Regions from separate parts of the Homo sapiens genome. Here all the other regions are linked to region 2. The links are contacts of gene promoters, found by promoter capture Hi-C in human tissues and cell types (Jung and others, 2019). All regions are on one chromosome and are shown on one strand. The core of a region is centred on a gene start or on the middle of the fragment in contact, and the rest is flanking DNA. Distances in the headings are between cores, read along the strand shown. Region 1 overlaps LOC105377476 (a long non-coding RNA gene). Region 2 holds the start of TMEM184C (transmembrane protein 184C). Region 3 has its middle 150 kb from the start of TTC29.

The links. Contacts are between HindIII fragments. The study calls those that stand out against the background at their distance.
Region 1: a fragment that was not itself captured here is called in contact with the fragment with the promoter of TMEM184C in region 2 in 2 of the 25 tissues and cell types used here (dorsolateral prefrontal cortex and mesenchymal stem cells).
Region 3: a contact is called between a fragment that was not itself captured here and the fragment with the promoter of TMEM184C in region 2, in 1 of the 25 tissues and cell types used here (dorsolateral prefrontal cortex).

What each region holds. Positions count from the first base shown.
Region 1 is chr4:147,082,810-147,086,913 of GRCh38, forward strand. All of the region lies in intron 2 of LOC105377476 (a long non-coding RNA gene), which reads left to right. Among named protein-coding and RNA genes, the nearest start is that of TTC29, 140 kb to the left of the region's middle. The HindIII fragment of the contact is 4,512 bases long and covers 1-3,648 here.
Region 2 is chr4:147,615,550-147,619,493 of GRCh38, forward strand. It overlaps TMEM184C (transmembrane protein 184C), which reads left to right and starts at 1,848. Exons shown (of 10, transcript NM_018241.3): 1 at 1,848-2,530. The coding sequence starts at 2,408. TMEM184C-DT (TMEM184C divergent transcript) reads right to left here and starts at 1,696. Exons shown (of 2, transcript NR_186679.1): 1 at 1,539-1,696. RefSeq lists enhancers at 2,068-2,187, 2,218-2,267. The HindIII fragment of the contact is 7,307 bases long and covers 1,095-3,944 here.
Region 3 is chr4:147,098,538-147,103,063 of GRCh38, forward strand. No RefSeq gene overlaps it. Among named protein-coding and RNA genes, the nearest start is that of TTC29, 150 kb to the left of the region's middle. The HindIII fragment of the contact is 6,894 bases long and covers 1-4,526 here.

The sequences.
Region 1 (4,104 bases), core at 143-2,642, 530 kb before region 2:
GTTAAAGTCACCAAGTGAATGGCTAAGGAAATCAAGGACTTACAATTTTAAAGTACAAAGTAATCTTGAAAATTACCTAATTTAATCCCTAATCTCATAAGCTTGAAATCTACAGTCCAGAAATGGTTTTAGAACACCAGGTCTTTGACACCTAGGACAGCATTCTTCTACTACTTCATGATATTCTCTCATACATCCATTATAATCATCCATTATAATCAGTTATCAAATATACATAATATGCAATATACTTACTCTTCAAAAGTGGTTGTAGAAGACAACAAAAATTACCTCAAGCTTTCCCCATAGCCAGATTGGAGCTGCCTTCGACATGCAAAATGTGTATTACAAATACCAAAATGAGGTTATTTTTCTAGAGCAAATTTTAGCAGCATCAAAAAGTATACTAAAAATATGCCACTAGGCAGAATCTTCATCTTTAAATAAAATATTGGTCTCTCTACAATAAAAATATAATGTACAGTTTATTTATTCTTGCTTTAGACAAAAATAAAATAAACCCGGAGAATTTTGGAGATCATTTGTAAACTGAACACAGCACAGTTATTCTACTAATCCTCAATTTCTCACTGGAAGTAGAGGACCCCCTTGAAACTTGAGTGAGGTGAGTTAAGGACCAATAAAAGGAAGTATTACTTTACAAAGAAAATAATAAACGTATGGAGCTCATTATCACAAAAGAGGTACAGGCAAGGAATATAAATGGATTCATAAAGGTTTTGACCAAATTTATGAATGTCAGAGCCATAAATGGCTACTGAGAGTACACCTAACCTTTAAGGTTAATGTCAGGGAGGAAAACTATGTCCTTCCCTGGCAAATCCCTTGAGGCCTCTGTTGTCAACACAATATTAGGTTGGATGGAACATGGGCTTTTCCAGCAGAGCAATTCCAAAGTTCCTTTTAGCTAATAGGAAACAGGACCAGATGAACATCCATCTCTTCAATAGAAGCATAAATGAAATGGATCCATTTTAAATGGGAAGCTTAATGAAATGATGCTGTTGAAATTTGTTATTTCTATAATCAAGGTTGTGTGTGTGTGTGTGTGTGTGTATATATGTATCTCCAAAGTGTGTGTGTGTGTATATATATATACACTTTTTTGTTTATATAAACAAGAAAAAAGATTTAAGTTTTTGGAATTGGAAGAAAGCCAATATTTGCAATGTTTGAATCCAGGCCCTGGTGCAAGTTACTTCCCATTCAGTGCCTCAGCATTCTCACATGTAAAATGGGGAGAATAATCCCCATGGTAAGGGCATTTTGTGAGAGTCATGCTAGAAAGCACTTTGTAAACTGAGAAACAAAATATATATATAGTTGCTGTAGCATATAGCCAGCTTTAAGCAAATCTCAATCATTTTAGCAGAAGGCTTGTGAGACACATGAGATTGGAAGGCTCCTCACTTTATTTTTCCTGGGAGAATTAATACAAATATTCAAAAAGTACTCAAGACCCAAGTCAAATGCCCTCTCACAATGGCAGGGTTTCTTTCTCCTCTAAATTTCCAGAACATTTTAGTCATGTCTCAGTTAGACTATTTGTATTATGATTTGTCTGCTAATTTACCTCCTTCATTTAACTATGAGATCTTCTAAATCAGAGGCCTTGTCTTATTCATCTCTGCATCCCTAATACTTATCATAGTTCCTCATATATAGTTGGCAATTAATGGAAGTGAATAAATCACTTAATGTGTTACTAATCCTGTTGTCTCCACCTCACACTTCACAGTCATGGAATAAAGGAATGATCCAACTATAAAATGCAATAAACCGATCATGGCTAAGGTACAAAGTCAAGACCAAGCCTATGCTTGGTCTCATTTCTGGGCTCCAGTCTCTAACTCCCTTATTGTGGAGAGAATAGTGTCTTGGTTCTATTTGCATGAAAAATAAAAAGCAAAACCTGAATTACAGAGTAGTGAAATCTTCACCAAGTGCACATGCGTAAAATCCTAAAAATCTCTTGATTTCCTAAAACTACAGTTTTTAACTCTTTAAAATAAGATGAACACTATATAATTCTGACCATGGCCTCACATTTTAGGTAAGTACACCATTGCAGAGCATCTGATGGCCACTATCATGATCCACAAATAGAAAACAGCCTTGTTATCTACAGAATTCAATGCAGGGGTCAAAATGAATGTTAAAATACAACCTGCATATTTAGTCCATGACATGAACAAACAATTGTAGGTATTTAGATCTAGTGCCTGGATTGCAAATGCTCAACTTTATCCTTAATGGCCGATTTCCAAGCATACTTCTGGTTCCATGAGCTTGACTCAATGGACTAAATGCTTTTCTTCTTTTCCCATAAGTTAGGGTGGTTCTGCTTTATCAGATTTTTTTAATGCCTAGAAAATGTTCTCCTCTTGTTTATGAAGTTAGAAGGGTAAACAGGAAAGAGACTGCTGGCATTAAATAAATATGCATGTATACAGATGCACAGGTGTGTATGCTCACATGTAACCCTGTTTTCACTTAACAGCAGTTGAAAGAATGAGAGTGAAATGGGTCAATAAGCCACTGGACACCAGCATTTTCTTCAGCATCCCCAGGGGCCAGTCCCACCCTACCGCTGCCTTTGTGAGGGCACTCTCTGGCCAGTTTTGCTCAGCACATTCATTTAGCAGTTGGCATTTTTGTTGTGAAGCTGACCTTCTGCTCCTCTGAGTTCCTAAATGCTATCCACTAATATAACAGTTTTTCTTGTCAAAGGGATTGTAATGAATGTTTATTTCAGATCTACACTTCTTAGCTTATCTGTAGCCAGACTGACTTTGCTGCCTTCAGATTTCAGCTGTTTTATTCCCCAAGGCTAAATTTACATTGGTAATTAATAATATCCTTGCTTATTCTGACCAAATACATACATATAAATGTATCTTCCACCTCTCTGCATCATAAATGCATCTTACACTTATCTTATTGTCATTATTTCCTGCTGTCAGTCTCATATTGGAATACGCAACATTGCTGTACTTTGTCATGGTGAAAAGTTTGTCCTGCAAATGCTCAGTTTCTTAGGTCTTCCGTGAATGGCTGTGCTTATCTCATGTGTGCTTCTAGGCATCTCCAGGGCTCTGCATTTAACTTCATACTTCTAAAAGCATCTGTACAGAGGTAATATTAATGTTATTGCCACAGACAGGCAGAGCCTCATTTCTCTCTGCTTTGACTGAAAATGCCTGTTCATAGTGAAAATGTGCAGACATTGGCATTCTTGTATGAGGTTGGAATGTGTGTGGGTCCAGCCATTGACAGCAGGAAGAAATAAGACACAACTGCCAGATGGCTTGGTTTAAAAAAAAAATACCAGTCAAGATTTGCTAGTGATCCATAACCATTAAAATTATTTTCCCAAAGGATTCTCTATTCCGAGGCTGGAAAAATATTCCTGAATTCACTCTCAGTTCTGAGATGGGGTTGCGTGAAAGAGTGGGTGATTTAAAGATCACTTATCTCCCAGAATAGGTACTTAAACTAGACATACTGGGTGTTTAAAATTCTCGATATAAGGATATGACTGCTATCATCTTTAAATTTTTTGAAGATCTGATTTAGAATTCATAGTAGGAAGGCAGAAAGTAGTAGAATGAAGATTGAATTTGGAGTTAAGTTCTAGTCTCTACCATTAAGTGGTTATCTTTAGTGTATCCCTAAGCCTCAGTTTATTTTCTATATGTTGGAGATAAAATCTGCACTCTCTAGGTCATAGTCATAGTATTGTTTAAAGATCTTAAGATAAAAATGTGCAGAAATGAACTCTGTAAACCATCCAGTGCTATGAATCCAAATTGCTGTTATAAACTAACACAGAAGTTCCTGAGTGGGGGAAAAAATTAATAAGAAACCTATTAATGGCCCTGGTAGCTTTTGCAACCTGGGTTTCCTTAGATCATTCATGTTGTAACTTTCATGTTGTTGGTTTGATCATTAGATTAATTCACTTTATATTGTTTTCTTATTTTATCCCCGAACAACTCAAACCCAAGCTGAATTATAACAACAAATAATAATGTTTAGGAAAAAAAAGTCTGGTCCCAAACAATGGTAACTATTATAAATTTT
Region 2 (3,944 bases), core at 598-3,097:
CCATATAAATGCTGTAAGAATACATGGGGAAACAAAAATAAAGGAAGGTCTCACAAATTAGGCAAAAAAAGTTTGCCCATGAGAAAGAATGGGAAAGATTATAGGCAGCAAAAACGCTGTAGCTGAAAGCACAGAGACAATCTACGCATACGGCATATCCAAGATAGCCTCTACTGTGTACCAAACAAGTAAAGAGTAGTTATACTTGGCCGTAGAGTAAAATTAACTTTCTCTTCATTATTCTTCTTTTTTATGAACTTTAACAACAGAGCAAGCATTAATTTAATGATCAGGAATTTTTTTTAATTAATTTTATTTATTTATTTATTTATTTATTTTTTGAGACAGAGTCTCGCTCTGTCGCCCAGGCTGGAGTGCAGTGGCTTGATCTCGGCTCACTGCAAGCTCCGCCTCCCGGGTTCACGCCATTCTCCTGCCTCAGCCTCCTGAGTACCTGGGACTACAGGCTCCCGCCACCACAACTGGCTAATTTTTTGTATTTTTGGTAGAGACGGAGTTTCACTGTGTTAGCCAGGATAGTCTCGATTTCCTGACCTCATGATCCGCCCACCTCCGCCTCCCAAACTGCTGGGATTACAGGCATGAGCCCCTGCACCCAGCCTTAATTTCCATTTTTAAAGTAAGCTTAGGAAGAACAAACATAAGGCCTATTTTTCCGGTAGAAAGTAGTTTGGGTCAGGTTGTAAAATACAAATGTTAACAACTGAGAAGTAGGCAGTGAAGTCAAGTCCAAACAGACGATACCAAAAAAGGGGCTCATAATATTCCTTAGGTGTCTCTGTGAGACTCCTGGGCTAGGTGTACTCAATGTTACAAGCCTCCTTATCCGTATGGTCATTAGGCGGAAATTCCCCAGGTGGCAGGTACTAGCAGGTCAAATGCTTAAATATAATGCCCTTTGGAGTCACAAAGACCAAGGTTGCTATCTCCACACTACCACTTAACTAGCTCAGTGAGCCTGGGCAAATTTATCAGCCACTTGACTTTTTTATCTGTAAAGTGGAAAAATGCCTACCTCTCAAAATTTTTGTGCAGAACAACTTACATAATGTAGGTAATGAACTTAGTACAGTGCCTGTCCCCCTGAAAATTACAATTACAATATAAAACGCATTTGTATATGTAATTGAGTAGTAGATATTTGTTTACTCTATTGGTTTAGCTAAAGGCTTTAAGCATATGAAACTCCTTTGTCAGATGGAATGTCAACTTTTTAAAACTTAAATGAGTGCAAATTTTTAACACAAGTTCCAAATGTAGAAGGGACATTCCCTATTTGCGGTTAATTCTAAAATGAAGCTACCTTTAGAATGATCCTTCTGTAGGATCCAGAAATAACCAAGCGGCCTAGCCCCTAGATTCTAGCAACTGACAGAAAACTAGGTGGAGGTTTCCCATTCTTCCTTGTCTTCTTACTCCAGCGGGCTTCTGTATCCACTCTAGATTGAATAGGGGATGTTTTGTGTAGAGATGGGCCTTCTCTCTTCCAGTCCAACTCTGAAGTAACCGCCCCTTACCCAAGCTTTCTTTAAACTGGAATAACGCCAGCAGAAGAATGTAGTAGGTGTGCTTCAAGTGTCCTCAAATAATTCCCGCAGCTTCCAGAATCCTTGCAATAGCCCGCTGGACCATCTGCGGCAATTCCACCCACTTCCACGCACCTGCTCTTCTTTCTAACCCCAGTACGCAATCCTGCAGCCCCGCCCCCACAGCTGACCAATCAGAGGGCGCAAAGTGAGTCGGATGGGGCGGGCCCAGTTTGGCGCTGACGACGAATCACCTGCCTCAGACAGCAGGGGCGGAAGCGGAAAAGAGCTGAAAGTCTTGGTTTGGCCTTGGGTTCCGCTGTAGGGGAGGTCCCGTGCGAAAGAATGAGGAGATCCTGGGGCCTTACCTACTAGCGGAATCGACTGAAGAGACGCCTGCCAGTGCGGGAGGTAGGAAGCTCGATCCCCAAAGAAAAGAGCGAGTGGGCAGGCAGCTGCGAGACAGAACCGGAGTGTGCAGGGTCCCTAGAGGCCGGTTCCTGGTCTGTGCTGCTCTCCTGGAAGCCATGGTACAGGCAGAGCTCAGGGCGATCCCCAGGTGAGGGCAGCGGCTCTGCCTGGGATTCCACCGCAGTACAACCGGGTAGATGCGGGGTGGAGAAGAAAGGATGTTGCCTGCACTGCTCGCCAATAGCACCCTGAGAGGCTACATTTGCAGAAGCAGCAGCAGCAGAAGACACAGCGCCGGTCCAGGAGGCGGCTCGAGCTGTTCGTAAAGTCGCCCGACAGCTTTTTCTCCGTAGTATGCGAGTTGACAAAACAGCCAGAGAACAGGGCTCCCCATTACAATCTTTTCGAGATCTTTTCCCTTGCTAACCGGATCTGATTTGTGCGAAAACATGCCTTGCACTTGTACCTGGAGGAACTGGAGACAGTGGATTCGACCTTTAGTAGCGGTCATCTACCTGGTGTCAATAGTGGTTGCGGTTCCCCTATGCGTGTGGGAATTACAGAAACTGGAGGTAAGAGGGTTCTGCACCATCAGCCTGTACACTTTCTTCTACCCATCTATGGTTGGGAAAGAGACACCCTTACCCCATTTCTGCCCTGACAGTCCTGAAAACCATCTAATGTAAACGAGCCTACTCTTAGGATATAAACCTGTCTAATTTCTTGTTCACGGTTCTTCAAGTCATGCTACAGGTGGAGGTGGGACCGGGTCGAGAAAATAGAATATATTAATATAGCTGCTTAGAAGGGCACTGTTTTGCAAGTATTCATCAGTTCCCTGAAAGTAAGGTAATTTTATTGCTGAAATCTGATCTGTTCAGACATTGGACGAAACTAGGTCAAATAAACTACCTTGAAAACCATGTATTGAATTTTATTAGCTTTTAACTAGCTTCTTGAATCAAAGCGTTCTAGTTGTTTTAACTTTGGTGTCTGTTTTTACTGTGGAAATTAGCTCTTACCCAACAAAGGTTTTGCAAAAAGTCCCTTATATATATTTTTTGATGTCATATGCTTATTGTGACATCAGTAATGTACTACAAGCTGGAAAACCCCAAGGTAAATAACTCAGATATAAATATTATATAATGAACTTTAAATTCGGAGTTAATAAAACCCACCAAGTACTTTTACAGAGGAACACCTATTACAAGAACTATAATAAGACCATGACTATTTTAGGCCCTTCTTTATTGTGGAAATGATTTTTACATAAACTGTATTTAATATACATTTGTGTTCTCTATTTACACTAAATTATTTTCTGATGACTTTCCCATACTAGCATAGTCCATATAGTTTTTTGTTTGTTTGTTTATGAGACGGAGTTTTGCTCCTGTTGCCCAGGCTGGAGTGCAATGGCGAGATCTCGGCTCACCGCAACCTCCGCCTCCTGGGTTCAAGCGATTCTCCTGCCTCAGCCTCCCGAGTAGCTGAGATTACAGGCATGCGCCATCACGCCCGGCTAATTTTGTATTTTTAGTAGCGACGGGGTTTCTCCATGTTGGTCGGGCTGGTCTCAAACTCCTGACCTCAGGTGATCTGTCCTCGGCCTCCCAGAGTGCTGGGATTACAGGTGTGAGCCACCGCACCCAGCCCCATATACTTACTTGTTGTTGTTGTTGTTTATTTTTATTTATTTATTTTTGAGAAAGAGTCTAGCTCTGTCGCCCTGGCTGGAGTGCAGTGGCGCGATCTTGGCTCACTGCAACCTCTGCCTCCCAGGTTCAAGCGATTCTCCTGCCTCAGCCTCCCAAGTAGCTGGGATTACAGGTGCCCACCACCACACCCAACTAATTTTTGTATTTTTAGTACAGACGGGGTTTCACGGTGTTGGCCAGGCTGGTCTCAACTCCTGACCTTGTGATCCACCCACCTCGGCTTCCCAAAGTGCTGGGATTACAAGCATGAGCCACCGCACCCGGC
Region 3 (4,526 bases), core at 1,470-3,969, 520 kb before region 2:
TTGTATTATTGTCATGCATTTTGAACTTCATAGATATTTTTATTCTCAAAATAAATTGTTTTTGCACAGTCATTAAAAAAATTTAGTAAAAAAAATTCTATTATTGAGGGGATTTCTCCCAACTACAGATGCTACTACCACCAGACCCCCTTAATCTTCATGCTAGTTTCTAGCTCTAAAATCAAAGTATTGGTCAGTTGACAACAAGGTTGTGTTTCATTTGACTCTAACAATAGTATGACAAATCCTCTCATGTTTGTGTATTTGTGAAGGTTCTAAGGTAGATGTTAATACCGGGAGTTTCTCAAATCATCAGTGATACCACCCTTTGAAGCTATGGCTGGGCTACTAGTTTCTTCCAATTACTCAAGCTGCCAAGGAAGCTGTGAGCCTTTGAAAGGGAGATTTCAGCCCCTTCCCCACTTCTGACATCTTAGGGGGTCACATTGCTGCTCCAAGTATTCTCTCTAGAAGCCATCCTAGACTGAGCCTGCCTATGTTCCAAGGACTCAGCTGTGTGAGGGAGTTGGCCTCCCAAATCATCTGGATGAGGAAGACTTTCATGTCTGCACATGCACACTTGACCATAGATATTAGTGCACATATGATCAGCAAGTAAGGAAAGGAATAAATCAAAGAGGTATATTATAAGTAATTTTAGTCATTTTAATTTTAAATAATTGGTTTCATCTAAGTGATCTCAATTAGGTCATGATATGTCTTAAGTTGAATGTTACTCTAGCTTAATTTTTTTGTTTCTGAGAGTTCCAAGACTGGTCTGAGGACAGCCATCTTTAATAGATGGTGTGTCTTTGAAAGGTGGAGTGTATAACATTATATTTCAAAAAGCAGCAAAGTAACTCTTACACATTGAAACAGGGTCCCCTAGTAGAGCAGAGGTCCCTAAAGAGCTTCTTAGATGGAAATCCCAGTCACTACTACTAGTAATCTATTCCTTCTACTTCTCACTTAATGGGACCTATTTCTGTGTTTACCTGAACAAAAGGTATTCTTATGCAAGATTTGTTTCTTGATTAATTTAGGCAATCTGTATTTCCTATCTAATCCCTTGGAAATGAAAAGGCGCATGATCGGTGTGAGAGAATGGGTTTATAGAAAGCCTCCACTAGCCCTCTTGAAGAATTTACGGGTAGCCTGAGGCCAAGGAGATACAGTAGGGCTTTCCTGTTCCAGTCTGTGCACATGCAGGAAGATCTGCCAGGAGAGAATATCTAAGGATAACCCAGAGAAAGGGTGATAGAGAATACAAGGCTTATAGCAGCCTTTCAGCTTATATTGCAAACTCCTTGCTGGTAAGGCCTTAGATATTGGGTTTATTGTGTGATTACATGGCCAAGGGAATGTGGTGGGGGATGGTTTCTATGTACCAGAAACTGCTTAGAAAAATTAGCTCATTTAATCCTTGGAACAACCCTTGGAGGTAGGTAGGATCATTATCCCCATTTTATAAATGAGGATATAAGCTGCATTTCTTTCTTTTATCAGTTTATTGTGCTTCCTTTTTGTCACTCTCTAATTTATGACAGTGGAGCAGAAGGAAAAACACAGGTTTCTTTGAACTTCTGGTAGCTTGGTCATCAAATGTATAAATATATACATGTATATGCTTATTCTGCAAATACTTTTTGAGCACCTACTATATGCAAGGCATTTGCTTGATACTGTTGAAAATGGGAAGATAAATGCCAAACTGCAGCAATCAAATGCTCACAGCCAGTACAGGAGATTAAAAAATAAAGACTTAAACTTCACTGTGATAGTGCAATAACGCAATTGATTATTTCAAAAAGAGAGGAATGGAACCAGTGAATCCTGCAAATCTCTGTGAACCAGAACTCATCCACAGCTTGACCCCAGTAGATAAATAGCTTCTTTTTTTTTTTTTTTTTGAGATGGAGTCTCGCTCTTGTCACCCAGGCTGGAGTGCAGTGGTGTGATCTCGGCTCACTGCAACCTCCGCCTCCTGGGTTCAAGTGATTCTTCTGCCTCAGCCTCCTGAGTAGCTGGGATTACAGGTACCCGCCACTATGCCGAGCTAATTTTTGTATTTTTAGTAGAGACAGGGTTTCATCATGTTGGCCAGGCTAGTCTCAAACTTCTGACCTCAGGTGATCCACCCACCTCAGCCTCCCAAAGTGCTAGGATTACAGGTGTGAGCCACCACACCCAGCCACAGATTAACAGCATTTTTGGAACATATCATTCACTGACTCCCAACATATCATTCCCTGACTAGATCTTAGCTTACAATTCACCAAGCAACCACAGGAGAATGGTAGAACCGGCCCAGAGGATGCAACCCGGGGCATGGAATTGTGAGGAAGATGCACCCAAGAAGAGCAGCAGCAACCTGCTCATTAGCACTACCGCGGAGCCACGGCTTTGACACCTGTCCAGTAACAGGAATGGGTTCTATCATATTCACAAAACAGTCAAAGGTTCTCCTGACTTCATTCTGATATACAGTATCTTATAAGAATGGTCTAGAATGCCGCCTAGTTTTTCACACATTCATGGAAAAATGACTGCACATTGCCCCTCTCTGGATCTGATATGAAAGACTGTTAGACAGGCATGGCAGCTAACTCCTGTAATCCCAGCACTTTGGGAGGCTGAGGTGGGAGGCTTCCTTGAACCCAAGAGTTTGAGGCTGCAGTGGGCTATGATGGCACCACTGCACTCCAACCTGGGCAACAGAGCAGAGCAAGATCCTGTCTCTGAAGAAATAAACATTTAAAAAAACTGTTTTTAAAAAGACTGCCTAGCTAGCCAAGCCCCTCTCTCCACCTTAAATCGTGCCTCTACCTACTCGCTGTCTTAGACCTTTTCATCACTGAGGGTTTTCTGTCACTCTGTATCTGCTATTTACTTCTGTGTCAGTTAGGGTCCCAAAAAGATTACTCAGATTAAGTTATCTGAAAGGGCTCAGGAAATTTCACAAAGCACACTCACCTAAGACTTCAAATAAAGGTAAAAGCTCAGGTATACCAAGAGAAAGAGATGGCACTCAAGCACTGGGAATCTGAGACATCTCCAGGCACTGTGTTTCTTCTGATTTGTGTGAGGAGGTGCTTGCTCTCCAGATTAAATAACCAAGACTTGTGATATGAACTTGGCTTCTCAAAACCTCTAGACAGCAGTCTCCCCAAACCCCTCACCCCTTTGTTAGCCAAGACAGGCAACTGGTCACACCAGGTGAAAGCTATCAACAAACATTCTGGCCCTGGGTTTCGCCAGGGGACTTCTGGACTGTAAACAGTGCATTGCAAATCACTGATTAGTTGGTTAGTTAGCCCACTGACCTTAAATTGGCCAAGTGTCAAAGCAAAGCATCCAGGCATTCATGGAGGTCAGCATGGAGATGCCCCAGTCAAGCTGTAAAAATAACTGTATGACACAGGCATGAGCAAAAGAAACTGATTCTGATTAACTTAAGCAGCAGGGAATTTAGTTAGACTTGGGAACAGGCACATAGCAAGGCAGGCCCTGGACAAGGTAGCGGGAATGACAAGGTGCTGCCAGGACCTAATGGAGTTACAATCAGTTTTTCAGTTCTTTTGTCTCTCTATTCATAGTTCAAATTCACAGCAAAAAGAACATTTCAATAACTAGACTTGGGTTGTGTATCTGTCCCCAGTCTAAGTAAGTATGGGGCTCCTGATAACAGTTAAACTAGACTGGGTGAGAACTAATTTCTGAAAAGAAAATTGTTGTTAGAAAGGCAAAATTGGCCAGGCTCAGTGGCTCACGGCTGTAATCCCAGCACTTTGGGAGGCCGAGGAGGGCAGATCACTTGAGGTCAGGAGTTTGAGACCAGCCTGGCCAACATGACGAAACCCCATCTCTACTAAAAATAAAAAAATTAGCCAGGTGTGGTGGTGGACACCTGTAATCCTAGCTACTTAGGAGGCTCAGGCAGGAGAATCACTTGAACCCGGGAGGCAGAAGTTGTGGTGAGCCGAGATCGTGCCATTGCACTCCAGCCTGGGTGACAGAGCGACACTCTATCTCAAAAAAAAAAAAAGAAAAAGAAAAAAAGAAAAAAAAAGAAAAGAAAAAGAAAGAAAGAAAAGAAAAGAAAGAAAAGGAAAGAAAAGAAAGGCAAAATTGCATTCAGCATTGCCAAAACCCAGCCAATATTCACTATAGCTTGTGACCGACTGTAAATGAGAAGTCTTGGGCAATTTGTGTAAAATACTTTATGTCTAAAGCAAGAGCCTCAATTCATTTCTTCTGAACATACTGTTCTTTTCTACATTCCTCTTCCTATATTACACCCACCCCACCCACCATATACCACCAGCTGCACACAGCTATTGCTGTTTTAGAAAACTGTATGTACTAGCTGATGTAAAAATGGAAACAAAAAAAAACAACTGGTGGTTTTTAAATAGTTTTTACTATAAAACTTATATATACCATTATAGAAATTTGAAAGTGAAGAAAATTATAATGAAAACCATAAAAATAATTTATAATTGTACTACATGAGGTAGATTCCTATA